Regions from separate parts of the Homo sapiens genome. Here region 2 is linked to region 1. Evidence: promoter capture Hi-C in human tissues and cell types (Jung and others, 2019). All regions are on one chromosome and are shown on one strand. Each heading gives the region's core, a stretch centred on a gene start or on the middle of the fragment in contact. The rest is flanking DNA. Distances are from core to core; before and after follow the strand shown.

Region 1 (4,973 bases), core at 1,424-3,923:
AAGGGAATTCAGGGGAAAAAAAGGCGCCAGGGTAAAGGGCTTTGGAAGTTAACTAAATTTGTTCTGCTTCAGCCGGCCATGGAAATCTCATTTTAACATACCAGACCCAATATGTTAATTAGGCAGTCGCAAATCCAACCTGCTCCTTGTAAATCAAGGCACCGGAAAAAAAAAATTCAAAATATCTATTATACAGGGATAAAACAAACAAACAAACAACAACAACAAAAAAACGCGCAAAGGAGTTGCGTGTCCGTGACGGGGACAATACAGCTGGAGAGAATGTTGGGTGGTGGCTATCGTTTTAGCCTGGTTCTGCTAGATATAAAAATGACTTCTTTCATGGATTTATTCTGCTACATAAAAGCACGTCCTGGCAGTTAAACACCATATCTCAAGACACACAGCCGTGACAATATGTATTCCCTTTCATGCAAACCAAGTTCCAAGAAAACTCCATTTCGAGTCAAAGTCTCCAGATGCGTAATTTACAACTACTAAAAAGATCTGGCAAGCTCCTCCACAACAAGGAAAGGAAAACAACCTGGCACCAGAGGTAGAAAAGGGTAGAAAAGATCTTTGGTTTAAATGATGGGTGGAAACCAAACACCCACTCACACTTCACAATCTGGAAAGGGTTGGGTACCAAATGGTCCGTGGCAACCACAGCCTGAAGGAAACACAGAATTTTGATCTCTGGCATCTTCAGACAGGTTCCACACGCCTAGCTCTCAAAAAATATCCTCAGGGTGGAGCACATCCATATTCTCAAAGCTTTCACTACTAGATTAAGTGCTTAGGTATAGATTTATATTTCACCTACTAGAAATCGTATTACAAAATCACAGAGCAGGCGCCCTTGGATACCCAACCCTTCCCAATGATTTTCAAAACATTAATAAGTAAAGTAGCCTGCAATGCAGATAAGACACTAGAAACAAGATCAAAAGGAAATTGGGTGAGGCGAGTAATCGTTGGTTTGTTACCTGGTGCCTCTAAGGGAAAAGACGGTCGTAGGAAGACTTTCTGCCTGCAGGTACAATCCCGGCAAGGTGGCTCCAGGTGGCTTTCACAGTCGTACGCGGGTCTCGCTCGTCACTTCGCTGCCCTTTGCCATAGCTCAGCACCCGCATCGTAGGGAATCGGAAAGGCGGCTCCTGCCACTGCCGCCGCTGCCCGCAGGTCGCTCTGGGTGGGGGAATCGCTGCAATCGCCCCATGAAACCCGCGGCTCCGCGCCCGGGGAGCGGGCAGAGGCAGGGCGGCCGCGCACGCACACACAGACACACGCTCACACTCACACACACTCGCACCCGGGCGCGCGCGCACTTGCACTCACACTCGCACACGCACACCCAGCACTGCACGGGGAGGAAGCAGCACGGAGGGAACCGGTCCTTCTCACGATTGGCTTCGAAGCCCACCGGACCGCGGGCAGCAAAGAGAGCGTTCTCGCATAGCCCTTTAATCACGTTTCCTTCAAGTTCTCCTCCAACCCGAATCCACGTAATTCAAGAGCTGGTGACATTTTGGTGGGGAGGAGGGAGCCGAGAAAGGGCTGAGGAAGAGTCGGGGATTTTGTTAAGCAGTTTAATAAGCAATCCTCATTACCTTATTTGTTTTGTTTTGTTTTGTATAGCAAACCAGTTCGAAGGGCTGAACTTTTGGCTTCAAATGCTGTGAACCAAAACGTAAATATCCTTCTGGCCAAGAGAAGAAGGTGTAGATACACGGAAACAAGAGGGCTGCAAGACACTCTCTTGACCTTGTGATGTACCTGGAAGCAGGTTAATATTGGCGCTTTCCAAGCTTCTGGGTAAAGCGATCCACACACCTGGGTCCACAGCCCAGCAGCCGCTCCAAATCCAGCCAGGAAAATGGGTCTGGGCGTCCTCAGAGCTCTGCAAGAACCCGGGCATGAAGGGGCATCGCCGAGTTAACACATTTGCTTCTGGGCAGTTGGATAAAAGACAGTCAAATGCATCAGATAGGCGCGCGCGTACACACGCGCGCGCACACACACACGCAGCTAGCTGGAAAGCGGCTTACAAAACACTAGAGACATGCCAAGATGACTTGAAAAGGTAGCCAACATCCAGGATCTTTCCGGAACACAGAAGGGCCAGCAGGGAGGTTATCAAAGTCTTCTCAAGTCTTTCAATTCTTCCTCTCTCCTCTGAGTGTGTGTGTGTCTGTCTAGGTTTCGTTGGTCTGCCCCACCCCCGTCCAGTTGCGCTTTTTTTTTCTGATATAACGGACCGTGCAAAATGGATTATATGGGTGGGCTGTGTTCACAGCCAGAGCTCCCCAAAGTCAAGGATCCTAAGGGAGCAGCCAGCTGCTAAACAATTCACATCCTCAAGGGAAGAAGGAAAAACACGCTCAAACACACGCAAACACGCGCACACACATACATAGTCCTCCGTTCGGGCAGCTCTGCACACGCTCACCGCCTCCCTGCGCGCCGCGGAACACAGCGCCCCGCCCGCTGGCCACCGCGCTGGGGCGAGTCCGCAGTTCAGGCGCGAGGCAAGCAGCCGAGGTCCGGGGCTGCGGCCGCGGCCGGGGCGGACCCGGGAGCTGGGCTTCCCAAAGCGTCGCGTGTGGGCAACGGCGGCCTCCTGGCCGCGTGGAACTGAGCCCTGCGCTGCAGCATGAAGGCGGCGGCGGCGGCGGCGGCGGGCGCGCGGCCGTGAGCTCAGCCCGCGCTGCAGTGACGGGAGCGGCCGTGTCGGCCAGACCCCGAGAGTCCGTGAGACCCCGGCCGGGGCCGCTCCGCTGCTGTCAGCCCTCGGGCCTCCCAGCCAGACTGGTTCTGAACCGATTTATCAGGGGGTTGCGGAGAGGGCCGGCGAAGCGCCAGGAAATCCCCAGGCTGAGGAGGCGCGGGGGCGTTGCAGGAAGGGGGAAGGGAAAAGGCAGAAAACCTGGAGAATGAAAGCGAACTTCCAGGGGCGTCCCCAGCCTCCTGCAAAAGGGCAATTTGCTGATCGCCCACTTCCTCGCAGTTACGGGATAGAGAGAATCATCACTGAGTCAAGCTTCGGCTGCTTAGGGCGGTGGGAAAAGTCATTATCTATAATAACCCGCCGGAAATTTTGAGGAGAGCTACTGACTTGGGGGTTTCAGTCATCTGAGGCTGGCTTCCGCTGTCCCCTTAGTTGTGGGTGGTGATTTGCTTACTAATCAGATGGGAGCGGATTCTGAAAAGAACATTTATATTTGGGAATCAACTCAGCTCAGCATCAGACATTACGAATACTGCAGTTGGTCACATTTTACTATGTGAAGGGCAGAAAGGGAGCCCAACAGTCTTCATAAGCCAGACCTAGTCTCTAAGGTCACCGGCACAGACGCAGGGTCTAAAGCAGGAAAGAGGTGCGACTGGAAAGGAGGTTAGACAGGGCCCTGCGGGAATGGATCTGCCCGGAGCCCTCGCCTGGTTTTGCTTGAGACTCCGACAAGACTCCCAATGCTTCTCTCCCCGACCCTATCCCCACTCCCTCCATCCTGGAAAAGCCAGTGAGCAAAGTTAACTCTTTCTTCTAAGAAACCCTGAGTGAAATCTTGCTCTTCCTTTCTGCTAGAGTCCTGAAACCCTTTCGCTTCTCATTGTGGGTTCACCAGCACGTGGTCTTCGGACACTGAGAGCACCTTCGCTCTCAGCTGTGATCCTAGCTAGCCCAGACACCAGTCTGTACCCAAAGGAAGAGTAGGAAGTTGCAAAGGGAAGCTGGCTAACAAGGGCTTCTTCTGCCCTACTTGGCAAAGGCCCATACGGGTGGCCTCCGTGGATATGGAGCTCCTTCATTTTGTTCCAAAAAGAGCTCTGCCAGGCTTTACCATTGCCCTGGAGGTGCACAGGCGCCCGTATACTCGAGCACAACCATGGGCTCACCCCAAGCGCGCACACCTGCACCCACGCGTAAGGAAGAACCACACAGCTATCTCTGTCGGGGAAGAACACGAGGAGTGAAGTGCTTTAGGTGGAAACTCCTCACATCTCCTTTCTTTCCTCTGCTCCCCCTCTCTGCCCCTGGTACTCCGGATCCAATCCTTGGCTTAGGAATCCACTCAAGCCACGTCTGGCTGCTTTGTTCCAGAGGAGCGCAGCTCCGAGACTGCACTTCAGCGGTGCAGCCTCCCTCCAGGTCGGCGAGCGGCGCCAGATCCGGGACTTCAGGGTCTCCGCGGGAGCTTAGGAGGCTCAGGATCTGAGTTGGAGAGCTGGAAGGCCAAACTCCGAGCCGCTGAGGGACTGCGCAGGAAGACCACAGAAATAAACCAAAGGGACACCGCGGACAGATGTACCAGAGGACACCACTGAAGTCCAGGAGAATCTCCACCAAAACCATCAGCGTTTTCCTTGTAGCTTTCTGTCCCTCGAAGTGGAAAGTTGAGGTTTCTGAGAAGTCCACGGAGAGAACCTGCAGCAAACTGAAGCCACAGACTCCGAAGGCATAGGGAGAAAAAATGCTTCCATCCCCCTTTCACTTTAAACTTGATCGCTTCTGGGACTTCACTGGAGGGCGGTGGAGTTGCACCAACCTGGAGTACAGGCAGATCCCAGCGAGCACTTCCAAGTACTTTAGGACGTGGGGGTGACTCTTTTTTCTTCAGGATTGTCCCACTTGCCACCCTTTCCAGCTGAGCTGATAGGAACCAATGAAAGTCTAGGCGATGAGGATTTTCCGTTACCTCAGGGATCAAAGTATAAAATGTTGAATGAGAAACCCGAAGACCTTGCATCGCTGGGCTGAATAACTTGTTTTCTTTTTTATGGTGTCCAGACTGAGGTAGGGAGGGGACACACTGACCTAGCTGTAAGAAGTCAAGGGTTGGGACAAAACAAAGTTCAAATATATACTGGAATTTGTGTGTGTGTGTGTTTCAGAAACTGTGTGTGTGTGTGTGTGTGTGTGTGTGTGTGTGTGTTTTCAGCTTGAGAAAGATGAAATCACGTTTCCTTAATGC
Region 2 (4,973 bases), core at 1,245-3,744, 270 kb before region 1:
GTCACCCAAATATTTTAATGCAGAATGCTAAGTTTTCTTTTAAGTGTATAAATTCCACCTCATACAAGAGAGAGTGATTTCTGTATGTAAAGAAATCTCAGTATTCTTTAATTGGTATAGCTTGAGTTGTCACCTATCTTGCCTACTCAGAAATCTCCCTACAGAGACTCTATGTGATATTGGGAACCCATGGATCCTACCAGTAAATACTACTAGGAACTGTGAAGGTAAATGTGTTCTTTCTTGCAGAAAATTGTTTGGGGAGAAAAAGCAGCCTAGAAAAGGCTAGTGCTAAGAGGCTGTGAAGATTCCCTACAGTGCTGGAACAGCAGGAGTTTGGAGTTGAGTCAGCTGGCGCAGGTGGCAATGGTTCCCTAAAATGAATTTTTGTTGTTCATGAGCATTTCCTATGCATGTGCAGAAGTAAGTGGGAAATATCTGGGAAAGGGGAGTGATGTGGGTAGAAAAGAGGGAGATAATTCATATATAAAACTTCAATTAATTAAAACAGTAGTACCTCCAGGAGATAAGTACAATTAATCTGGGGAGTAGATGGCTATTTGTTGATATTGTTTGACTTTCTCCCCACCCAAATCTCATCTCAATTTGTAGTTCCTACAATCCCTATGTGTCATGGGAGGGACCCAGTTGGTGGGGGGGTAACTGAATCATAGGGGTGGTTACCCTCATGCTATTCTTGTGACAGTGAGTGAGTTCTCATGAGATCTGCTGATTTTATAAGGGGCTTTTTCTCCTTTTGCTCAGCACTTCTTGCTGCCACCATGTGAAGAAGGACATGTTTGCTTCTCTTTTCACAATGATTGTAAGTTCCCTGAGGCCTTTCCAGCCCCGCTAAACTGTGAGTCAATTAAACCTCTTTTCTTTATAAATTACCCAATCTTGGGTATGTCTTTATTAGGAGTGTGAGAATTGACTAATATATTCATTTAGATAAATAATTTGATTATCCACTTTGTTTGTGAAAGGTACATTCCCCAGGGCATTGCTTTTGTAGGTACAATAAAACAAGGATAGCCAAATTCCTCTACTTGATAAATTAAAGTGCATTATGAGGAAGAGGAGAAAGGACCCAAGAAAGTATAGCAAAGAACAATATTCTATATAAAATGTGGGTAGGCATGTGGCTTCAGATAAATAAGCAGAGTTGTTACCTTTCAGTTACAGAGTATATTGTTGCTGTGATATTGCCCTGTTGCTCCCTATCAATGTCAAACCTGAAGATGTTTGCCTCAACATATCTGTGCCTTTTGGAAAGCATCAGAGTAAAAAGATCTTGAGTTCTACATCATTGATTAATGAGGAATCTGAATCTCAGTGAAGGCCAGAAAACATTATTAGGTATCTAAGATTCCAACCTGAATTTAATGCCCCAGTTCTCTTTCTACTGCATCTCATTGCAGGATAATTAGGCTTCAATGGTCACAGGAATTAGGAAAGACTCACACATTGAACATTGCCACAAATGTGAAATGCAATGAAATCATCATGCTGCTACCTCAGCACAGTAGATGACCCCTGTTTCTTCCAATATAGCAGCCTCTTTCCTGGAATTCACGTTGATTTATGACAACTTGAAAGGACATAAAAAAGGTTATAATACAAATTTGAATGCTATTAACTGGTGTTTCAAATCTAATAAATGATTTATTACTTTATCCAGTTTTTCCTTGAAATTCTGAAAGGTGAATCTCTGAGCCACAGAGATATCAAACTATCCACTGTATTTCAGTTTCCCTAGGGTATTTAACATTTCTTGTAACTGTAGTCCCTGTGGTTATATTGGCTCTGTTGTGCTGTTGCCATAGCAATTAAAGAAACACAGTAGTAAAGCAATGCAGAAAGAATGATCATCAGTATGGAGATGCTCTATGACAGAATTCAGGCATCTAGAAATATGGAAAATTCTTCAGGAAATAATTTCTCTTCATATTATTGTGGGCATTGAGGTAGCCTAGTTATCTCTATCAGAAAATCAAATTGAATAGCTGAGTCTCTGTGAACATGAAAAATGGGAGAAGAAAGGCATACCCACATACAGAAGGACAAAAAATGAATTTACTGAGGGTATAAATACCAAGAATGTGTGTGGGTGGAAAGTTCCGGCAGTACTCCTACAGAAATATTTTGACAAACTAACACCATATGGAAGATTTTATATCACTGAACGCAATGTCTCTCTCCTTCTCTCTCTCTCTCTCTCTCTCTCTCTCTGTCTCTCTCTCTCTTTCTCCTCTCTCTTTCTCTCTCTTCTGTCTTAGGAAAACGGAGCATTAAGAATATTTAGTACATTTTATTGTATTTTGGGAAGTGCACTCTGCTCTTCTACCCCTAAAGAAAAATTTAAAAAAGCTCTGCATTAATTGTGTTTCTGTGATTTGAGTTTGTGTTTCCTTCAAATCCTGCACTATGCCTGAAAATAGGATCAAGATGCAGTTTTATTCACTCATTGTAAATACAAACTGTTTAACAAAATTCTTGGCCCAGGACAGATTCTCCATAAGCAGCAGCTGCAGCAGCCGTCATTACTGCAACAGTGTAGTAAGCAAGAACAATAACAAAGTGGAAACAGCCTATTACCAATTTTAGGGTGAACAATGCTACATCAACTCAGTGAATTTTAAATCAAGCCATTGAAATGTTTATGACTCATAAAGAAGTGGAATTTAGACAAAAGTTTAGTGAAAAAACAGAATAAACTATCATATATACTTTTGTGTATGCAAATCTATACGCATATCTGTGTGCACACATATGTGCCCATGTTATGTGTTTATGAGAAAGTACTAGTTGCGTTTCTAATATCCACTTGTCCCTTCTTTAGAAGAAGAACCTAATTTTTACCCATTGCATTGCCCAGAATGTTTGTTTTGTAAATTGTGCCTTCCAATGATATTAAGCGAAAATGTTGAGAACTTCACAGCAGGCTGCTTACACGGAGATAACTGAGATGGGATCTACCACTTATCCTGTGCTGTTTGCCTTCTTTCAAATTACAGTTCGAATATAATGTGTGGAACCCTAGCACCAAACTGGGACATTAAGGTAATCTTGAAGATGAGAGTCATGAGCAAGGATGATAAGGACTCATTCCTAATTGCCTTGAATTTACTCTTCCAGCCCTGGATTGCTCTCTAACATGTTTAAACTACTACTATTTTGAAAAGTCTGTTATTTATAGCCAAACTAATTTCAATTGGTTACAGTGTGATTTTAAATCATTAAAGCATCAAATATGAATATGCTAAAATGATTAGAAAAAAACATAGCATGCATTCAAGTCTATATGTCTATAGATACTTTAGATACTTTTTGTGTGTAGCTCTTTTCTGTAAATTTTTCAAAAAGTTAAAAGTAACTTGGGTTCTTTCAATAGTAAATCATCCACATTAGTGATTAGTCATAGCCATAAAAGTTATCTACTAATTGAGAAGTTTTTGACAGGTATAGCTGTAAGCTGTAACAAAAATTACTAAAAACAAATATTATATGATGATTAAAGTGAATAAACACATTTAGCCTACATCTGTCATCTATCAGCAGGTAGGCACTGTTCATTCAGTCTCTGAAGCATTTCTTGATAGTAACTTAGATAGGAGAGATTATTATTTCAAACCAGCTAAAGAAATTCTTATTTTAAAAAAGCCATTGAGCCCACATTCCCTAACTATAAGAATGTAAAATAATAATTAAAAAAAGCTTACCAACATGGTTATTGGTTAAATATGTGGAGTAAGTACAAGTGTTGGCTAATGTCCTCAACTTTAGCTTGGGTAAAAGAGCAGGTAGAGTAATATTAATTAGAATTAGTAAAAAAAGTTGGACTGTGATAAGAGATAATAAATTAATTAGGGTAATCTATTTTTGAAGGTAACTTTCTGGTTTAAATCAGGGTGGGAGAGATGTTGAAATAAACAGGATACTGTGAGTAGAAAACCTTGGAGGATATAATGGATAGATACGGCTGCTTTGCAAACAATAAGTATGTGCTATTTGAAATTTCTTGACAGCATCCTATTGTATAAATTTGGGATTTTTTTTTTTTTAACAGATTTTTGCTCTTGTTGCCTAGGATGGAGTGCAATGGTGAAATCTCAGCTCACTACAACCTCCGCCTCCCGGGTTCAAGAAATTATCCTGACTCAGACTCCCAAATAGCTGGGATTACAGGTGCCCACCACCATGCCCAACTAATTTTTGAATTTTTTAGTAGAGATGGGGTTTCGCCATGTTGACCAGTCTGGTCTTGAACTCCTGACCTCAGGTAATCTACCTGCCTTGGCCTCCCAAGTTGCTGGGCTTATAGGCATGAGCCACTGTGCCTGGCCTAAATCTGGGAGTATGTTTTTACTGTTATTTGTTATTACACAAAATAATAATTACTTTTGATTTGATGATTATTTTTAATTTTTCAATTGGCAAAGCTATTGATGCAAGCATTTTTTTTAATGAGATAAATCTAGTATCTACTTTTGTCCCTAGGATTTTAAAAATAGAATTGGATGATTTTTAAATAAGACCCCATTTCTCATTTTTTTCTAGTTTTTAAAAGCACTTATTTCTAGCTGAGAATATCAAGGCCTAAATATTTATCAGATATGATTGGAATTTTTCAAACCTTAAAAACTGACATATGCAACCTAATATGTACTGATAATCTAGTATTTAGATGAATTATAATATACCTGGTCGGTTGTAATATAAGACAGTCATAAAAAATTTTTGAGAGTTAAAAATAATAATAAAACATGTGCTACAATGTATGTTGGCATAATTCTAAAATGTCCCTGTTATTGCTACTCCCTGGTGTATACACTTTTGTGTAATCTTATTCCATTGAGTGTAGTTAAAAGCTAAAACTTCTAATCAATATTAAATGTCAGTAAAAAAAGGCAGTTTGTATTGTATGTACAACTCCCAATTATTTGACTTTGAGTTAATAAAAAGAGAGTTAT

The links. The method cuts DNA at HindIII sites, captures the fragments that hold promoters and counts their contacts. A contact is called where the count stands out against the background at its distance.
Region 2: a fragment that was not itself captured here is called in contact with the fragment with the promoter of LRFN5 in region 1 in 2 of the 25 tissues and cell types used here (dorsolateral prefrontal cortex and mesendoderm cells).

Annotation. Positions count from the first base shown.
Region 1 is chr14:41,604,576-41,609,548 of GRCh38, reverse strand. It overlaps LRFN5 (leucine rich repeat and fibronectin type III domain containing 5), which reads right to left and starts at 2,673. Exons shown (of 6, transcript NM_152447.5): 1 at 987-2,673. The HindIII fragment of the contact is 3,229 bases long and covers 1,292-4,520 here.
Region 2 is chr14:41,870,679-41,875,651 of GRCh38, reverse strand. All of the region lies in intron 2 of LRFN5 (leucine rich repeat and fibronectin type III domain containing 5), which reads right to left. Among named protein-coding and RNA genes, the nearest start is that of LRFN5, 270 kb to the right of the region's middle. The HindIII fragment of the contact is 5,997 bases long and covers 1-4,973 here.